Linked DNA regions of Homo sapiens: region 1 is linked to region 2. The links are contacts of gene promoters, found by promoter capture Hi-C in blood cells and fetal thymus (Javierre and others, 2016). All regions are on one chromosome and are shown on one strand. The core of a region is centred on a gene start or on the middle of the fragment in contact, and the rest is flanking DNA. Distances in the headings are between cores, read along the strand shown.

What was found. Contacts are between HindIII fragments. The CHiCAGO score rates a contact against its expected background, and 5 or more counts as called.
Region 1: a fragment that was not itself captured here is called in contact with the fragment with the promoter of TMEM14B in region 2 in 5 of 17 cell types (naive B cells, M2 macrophages, erythroblasts and 2 more); the score reaches 8.2 in naive B cells.

What each region holds. Positions count from the first base shown.
Region 1 is chr6:10,498,021-10,501,775 of GRCh38, reverse strand. No RefSeq gene overlaps it. Among named protein-coding and RNA genes, the nearest start is that of LINC02522, 18 kb to the right of the region's middle. The HindIII fragment of the contact is 3,498 bases long and covers 746-3,755 here.
Region 2 is chr6:10,745,987-10,749,495 of GRCh38, reverse strand. TMEM14B (transmembrane protein 14B) reads right to left here and starts at 1,691. Exons shown (of 6, transcript NM_030969.5): 1 at 1,615-1,691; 2 at 228-294. The coding sequence starts at 250. It overlaps TMEM14B-DT (TMEM14B divergent transcript), which reads left to right and starts at 1,912. Exons shown (of 2, transcript NR_187231.1): 1 at 1,912-2,035. RefSeq lists silencers at 1,662-1,721, 1,677-1,897, 1,732-1,961 and an enhancer at 2,082-2,131. The HindIII fragment of the contact is 12,296 bases long and covers 1-3,509 here.

The DNA of each region.
Region 1 (3,755 bases), core at 1,245-3,744, 250 kb after region 2:
GCCAAGCAGAAGCCAGTGCCATGCTTCTTGTACAGCCTGCAGAACCATGAGCCAAAAAAGTACCTTTTCTTTTTTTTTTTTAAAGGATGTTCTCTGATCACGTGGAATTAAGTTGGAAATCGGTAACAGGAAGATATCTGGAAAATGCCCAAATATTTGGAATTTCAGACCATACTTCTAAATAATTCGTAGTCCAAAAGAGACACTAAAAGGGAAATTAGAAAGGACTTTGTGCTTAATGAAAATGAAAACATGATGTATCAAAATTTGTGGGATTCAGCTAACGCAATGCAGAGAAAAATTTACAGCATGAAATACCTACATTAAAAAAGAAGAAAGTTCTCTCATCAATGACTTCAGTTTCCTCTCTAACAAAATAAAGCAAGAGGCTATATTAAACCCAAACCATGCAGAATCAAAGAAATACTAAAGATAGGAACAAAAATCAATAAACTGAAAAACAGGAAAAAAATGGGGAAAAAAAAATCAATGAAGGCAGAAGCATGTTTTTTTTTTTTAAGATTAAAATTTTTTTTCTTCAACTTTTAAGTTCTGGGGTACATGTGCAGGATGTGCAGGTTTGTTACATAGGTAAATATGTGAGAAGCATGTTCTTAAAAATAAAGACCAATAAAGTTGATTTTTTAAATAATGAGGAAAAGATTTGAACAGATTATTAAAGAAGACACACAGAAGGTAAATAAATACCTGAGAAGATATTCAAAATCATTATTCATTGCAAGCTTAGTGCTAATTAAAATCACAAGGAAATATTGTTATAATCCCACTAAAATAGCGAAAATTAAAGAGATTGGCCATACCGTGTGTTGGTGAGATGTGAATCAACTGGAAATTTCCTATCCTGCTGGAAATGTAAAATCACACAAACACTTTGGACAATAGTTCAGTAGTTTCCTAAACTCTTAAATATACCCGTCGTAAGACCTATCCATCCCCTCTAGGTACAATTGCTTCTCATTATTCGAGGTAGTTATTTCTATAAAGTTGCCACAAACTGAATTAGCTAACTCTGAAATATTGTCGCTAGAGGATATATATCTAACATGGATTATAATCTTAAATCTCCAAGACAACTCATCCTGATTGATTTTCTTTTATTTTATAAAAGAGAAAACTATGTTCCAAAGTGTTAAGAGTCTTGCCTGAGATACTCCACCAAGGGGCGTTTTCTGCTACTGATTTCCAACTTAATTCCGTGTGATCAGAGAATATTCTTTTAAAAACATCCAAGGTCCTAATGCTCCGGGATCTACAGGCGCCGGAGGTGAGATTCAGATCTGTCCAGCTGGCCCCACAGCTGCAACTTTTTGCCCTATAATGTATAATGTTCCCTCCCGTTTCTCTTTTTTTTTTTTTTTTGAGATAGAGTCTTGCTCTGTCGCCCAGGCTGGAGTGCAGTGGCATGCTCAATCTCAGCTCACTGCAACCTCCACTTTCCAGGTTCAAGCGATTCTCCTCCCTCAGCCCCCTGGGTTGCTGGGATTACAGGCGCCTCCACCACGCCTGGCTAATTTTTTGTATTTTAGTAGAGATGGGGTTTCACCATGTTGGCCAGGCTGGTCTCGAACTCCTGACCTCACGTGATCCACCTGCTTCGGCCTCCCAAAGTGCTGGGATTACAGGCATGAGCCACCATGCCTGGCCCCGTCTCTATTTTCTAGTCACCTCTGTGTATGAGCTGAAACAAGAAAGTAGAGTCATCTTGTTCAACCTTAGCTGGGAATGTGCAAGCCTGGGAACTTAGACTTTTGGCAGCTCTGCACATATGGGCAAGTGACCATGAATACTACTTGTAAGGTTAATACTTTTGGGGTTACACAAACATGTTAATGAGTAGGTGAATTTAAAACACATAACCCGCAAATAAGGATCAACTATATTTATTCCAGGGAATTCAAATCATATGTTGGTATATACTCTTGTATATAGCTGTTTATGACATCTTTATTTAAAAAAAAAAAAAAAAAAAAAGCCTGGCACAGGGGCTCATGCCGGTAATCCCAGGACTTTTTGAGGCTGGATGGGCAGATCACAAGATCAGGAGTTCGAGACCAGCCTGTCAACATGGTGAAACCTCATCTCTACTAAAAATACAAATATTAGCCATGCATGGTGGCGTGCGCCTTTAATACCAACTACTCGGAGGCAGAGGCTGTAGTGAGCTGAGATCGCGCCACTGCACTCCAGCCTGGGTGACAGAGCAACACTCCATCTCAAACAAATAAAAAAAAAGTGGAAGTAATACTAATGTCTATCAGCAGGTGAATGGATTAAAAAAAGTATGGTATAGTCATACAAGGGAATACTTCCCAGTAATAAAAGGAGTAAACTATTAATACGTGCAACAACATGGACAAACCTCAAAATATTAATGCTGAAAGAAGCCATACCAGAAAACAAAGTTCCTGCTATAAGATTTCATTAATATAGAAATCTAGAAAATGCAAACTAAAAGTGCAAACTTTCTATAGCGACAGAAAGTCAATCAGCAGTTATCTGGAAGGGAGACATCTCAAAGGGACCCGGGGAAACCTTTTGGGGCTGATGAATATGTTCTGTGTTTTACTGAAGTGATGATTTCACAGATATTTTAATAAGTTAAAACTCATCAATTGTACATGTATGTGAAGTTTATCTCAATTATATCTCAGTGTTGCTAGGTTGGGTGGAATATGGGAGAAAGAAAAAATTAAATTGGTATAGTAATCTATATCCATTAAATTCTATAGAATGGGGCTGGGTGCCGTGGCTTATGCCTGTAATCTCAGCACTTTGGGGGGTTCGAGGCAGGCGGATCACCTGAGGTCAGCAATTGGAGACCAGCCTGGCCAACATGATGAAACCCCGTCTCTACTAAAAATGCAAAAAAATTAGCTAGACATGGTGGTGCACACCTGTAAACCCAGCTACTGGGGAGGCCAAGGCAGGGGACTCGCTTGAACCCAGGAGGTGGAGGTTGCAGTGAGCCGAGATTGTGCCACTGCACTCCAGCCTGGGCAACAGAGCAAGACTATGTCTCAATAAATAAATAAAATTCTATAGAATGGTTATTACATTAGTAAATTAAAATCTAGCTGGGCGCAGTGGCTCACACCTATAATCCCAGCACTTTGGGAGGCCAAGGCAGGTGGCTCATGAGATCAGGAGATCGAGACCATCCTGGCTAACACAGTGAAACCCCATCTCTACTAAAAATACAAAAAATTAGCCGGGCATGGTGGCAGGCACCTGTAGTCCCAGCTACTTGGGAGGCTGAAGCAGGAGAATGGTGTGAACCCGGGAGGTGGAGCTTGCAGTGAGCCGAGATCAAGCCACTGCACTCCAGCCTGGGCGACAGGGTGAGACTCCGTCTCAAAAAATAAATAAAAGATGAAAAATAAATAAATAAAAATCTAATCTATTGAATAACTGAATTCTAATCTATTGAATTCAATAGAATGGTTAAATACCAAATTAATGCATATTGTACTGCCTAAGATATGAATGAATGGAATGATATGGAATATTTGCAAACACTTGTAACACACAATGTGCCATGCGCTGTTCTGTGCTCTTTACATACAATGAATCATACTCACAGCAACCCTATGAGAGGGATACTATTATTATCCTCCTTTTACCCAAGAAAAATATGAGGCACTGAGAAGTTGATTAACTCTCCCAAGGTCACACAGGCTTGAAGCCATAGAACCACGTCTCAAAAGCAGGCAGTTTGGTGCCAGAATCCATGCTGT
Region 2 (3,509 bases), core at 442-2,941:
CACTGAAAATAAGCACCACAGAGGTTGGATGACTTTCTGAGAGTCACACAACTAAGCAAAGCTAGAGCTGGGACTCAAACCCAAGTTTCTGGCCCACAGGTCCAGTGATCCTCCCATCCCGCACGCCATCCCAGGCAGTCTACTCTTAGGGTTCTTTTCAGCTGAGGAAAGGAACTCTGGTTTCCAGAAGCTCCTGGCTACTCTCTAACCATTTACTGTCTACTCACAATGGGAAGAGGGGCTTCTCCATTCTTCTCTTCTCAGTCCAGAAAGGAGACTACCCCAGGCCTGCATCTGGGGAAAACAAGCCGGATCAGCAGTGGTTAAAAGCACAGCTCCCCAGCAGTCAGAAAGAAGTGTGTCCAACCTGCAGGCTATGCAACCTAAGTCTCAGTATCCTTCACTGTACCATGAGGATAACACTGGTACCAATTTCCTGGGGGTGTTGTGAGCATTCAATGGATGTCACATGTAAAGGTGCTTAGCACCTAGTAAACCCTGAACAGATGCCGATCATTTCACATAGGTCCACAGGAAACTCAGCAAGATCCACTGACCAGCTCTATAATCAGGGAATGTGTTAGTCATTTCATTAAGCACTCACATTATCACTAAATCGGAAAGCAAATACTCCCGTGCCCTTAATCCAACTACTTTAATGTCTCTTTTGAGGGGTGGTAGGGATGTTGCTTTTCTTCACTGATGCAACAGCCAATTTCAATACTCAATTTTTTTTTTTAGAAACTTCTGCATCCAACTCACAGTTCTCGTTAGGAGGGCAGAAGGGGAGGGTAAAATACACGGAAACTCAAGTCAGAATCACATGTGACATTGCACCCTTGGAAAAACAGCTCCTATTTTCTTACAGAAAAGTATTCTGTATGCAGTGAACCTAACAAGATGGAAAGCAATGCATACGCCGTTTATTCTGTTTAAAGAATTAGGCCAGGCAAAGTGGCTCACGCCTGTAATCCCAGTACTTTGGGAGGCCCAGGCAGGCGGATTACCTGAGGTTAGGAGTTCGAGAACAGCTTGGTCAACATGGTGAAACCCATATTCTATTAAAACACACACACACACACACAAATCGGGCATGATGGCATGCACCTGTAATCCCAGCTACTTGGGAGGCTGAGGTGGGAGGATGGCTTGAGCCCAGGAGGCAGAGGCTGCAATAAGACATATTCAGGCTACTGCACTCCAGGCTGGGCGACACAGCGAGAACCCCTCCCCACCCCCCAAAAAAAGAAAGAATTAATTTCCCATAAAACGGGGAAGGGCAGCGGGCTTGGGATCTTGCCCACAGTTCTTAACTCGAGGCGGCACTGAGTAAGGGAGGCTTTTAAAGAGCTGGAGCAACAAAACCACCAGGAAACGAGGCAACACTATGCTACAAGGGTAAGCCTTTGCCTCAGGAGCTCAGGTGCTCCGAGCATCCACAGCCTCTTTTAAGACAAGCAGAAAATACCCAAGGAGAAAAGCACCGACCACACGGCATAAAGGCCCGCTGAATCGGGGGGACGAAAAGCAGACGGCCGTGAAACTCCTAAATAATCCCTAAAAGTTAAAAGTGGCAGAAAATAAAAACAATACTCTCCAAAGACCTGCACCGACCTGCCGAAGGCCCGCGGAGTCCACTACGGAGCGCAAGCCGCGGGACACAGCAGCCAGGTCTCTCCGGAAACGCGATTGCGTGCGCGCTGCGCCCCGGGGCCGCGGCAGGGCGGGGAGAAAGGCGGGACGTCGTGGCGCGTGCGCAGTGTCCTTGGAGAGAGGTGAGCGGAGAATGGGGACAGTGGGGGCGGGGCTTGAGCCGCGGATTACCAGCACGCGCCCTGCATCCCGGGGGCGGGGAGTGAGGCGGGGCATCGCGGCTAGCGCCGTTGGCGGGGAACCGGGCGGGGAATCTCTGTGCTTCCTCAGTCCCCAGGCCCAGCACCTGCAGGGCCGACCAGCTCCAGTCCCAGGTCCAATCCTGAGTGGCCAAAAGCCGGAAACCCGGAGTTGGAATTGGATCTTGCACAAGCTGGACCACGTAAGCTGGGCCAGGCCAGAGGTGGAGGCCACCGCTGCGGGAGGAGGGCATCTGATGATTTTGAAGGACCCCATTAATAGAGGGTATAAACCAGGTGCGGGCCATCAGGGAGGATTGTCACTCTGGCCCGATCTTGTTTGTTTACACCAGGAAGGGCCTGCCTTCCACCTGCAAGAAAATATGGCAGCTGCAGAATAATGTGGCGCAATGCCAAATATCCGTTTGTTTTAGGGAGTGAGGCTACTTGAGAAGCATCTTAAATGGGGAGAGAGAGCAAGTTAAATCTGATTTCCACGCAGCTCTGTGGATTCCGAATGTCCACAGTATGATGTTATCTCCATTCCCACTTCCGAGCCGCTCCTCTTCTGTGTTTCCTGCACCACCATTCGCTCAGTTGCTCTACACTAAAATTTGCTGTCATCGTTGACTTCTCCCTCTCCTTCATCCCCTACAAGTATCAACATAGACAACTCCGATCAATATAATCATCAGTGAATAAAGCAAATTGCAGCGCATATTCTTAAAGACAAACTTTCCACTTGCAGCAGCACCTACCTTCCAGATAGCTAAATTGAAGCCCGTGTTTATCATAGCTGCTTCTAACCAGCCAGAGCTGATAATAACTAAGAACTTGCAGGAATTGCAGTATGCCAGACCTTCAATTTAATTGAAGACTTTCCTGAACAATTAATGAGACTTGTCTTAACCAGCAGGGAATGGCTTTAGGGACTCATTCTTCCCTATGCAGGTGCAAGCCTCAAACCTTAATTAGGATCATCCACCATGATCCTCGAGCCCTTCCCCACCTTATACTTGAAGAGGCTGAACCTCAGAGAATTAAATTACCTACAGTCCTGGTCACTGGTAGAGCTATTATTTAAAGTAAGGTCTAATGTCAAAGCCTGCGTCCTTAATTCTACCATATGCTGCTTCTTGCAGTGTCGTTCCTCAACCAGAACACATAGCTCTTCTGTGTAGGTAAAGTCCATCAAAACATGTCATAAAATAAATTAAAGAAATTGGTTTCTGCTCTATTTCAATTAGTACCAGAGTAAAACAATCAATGATTTGTGTTTGGGAATATTTCTAGTTGGCATTAACGTTGTTAGGAGATAGCTTAGCTCTTCACTGGGGGCCCACTGAATTATCGGAACCCTGGAACACAAATGTGTCAAAAGGGTGTAATCAAAATTATGTCAGGGAATGTTAAGTTTCTAGTCTTTGGTCACTGAGGCCTATCAGTAGGTTTGGGTGTTTTGTTTTGTTTTTCCCACAAAGAGGCTTTGAGTAAGAATTGTGTCTGGTAGACAAACACAGGTACACACACAGGTGTGTACTCACACAGCAAGAGCAGTAGAGATCATCTCCCACAACACAAGAGCTCATGAAGAAAGGGAATTGAGCTTCAATGTAAGCATTAGTTTAGCATTTTTGGAGCCTGAATGTGTTGACTTTACAAATTAAGAAGTCCCTG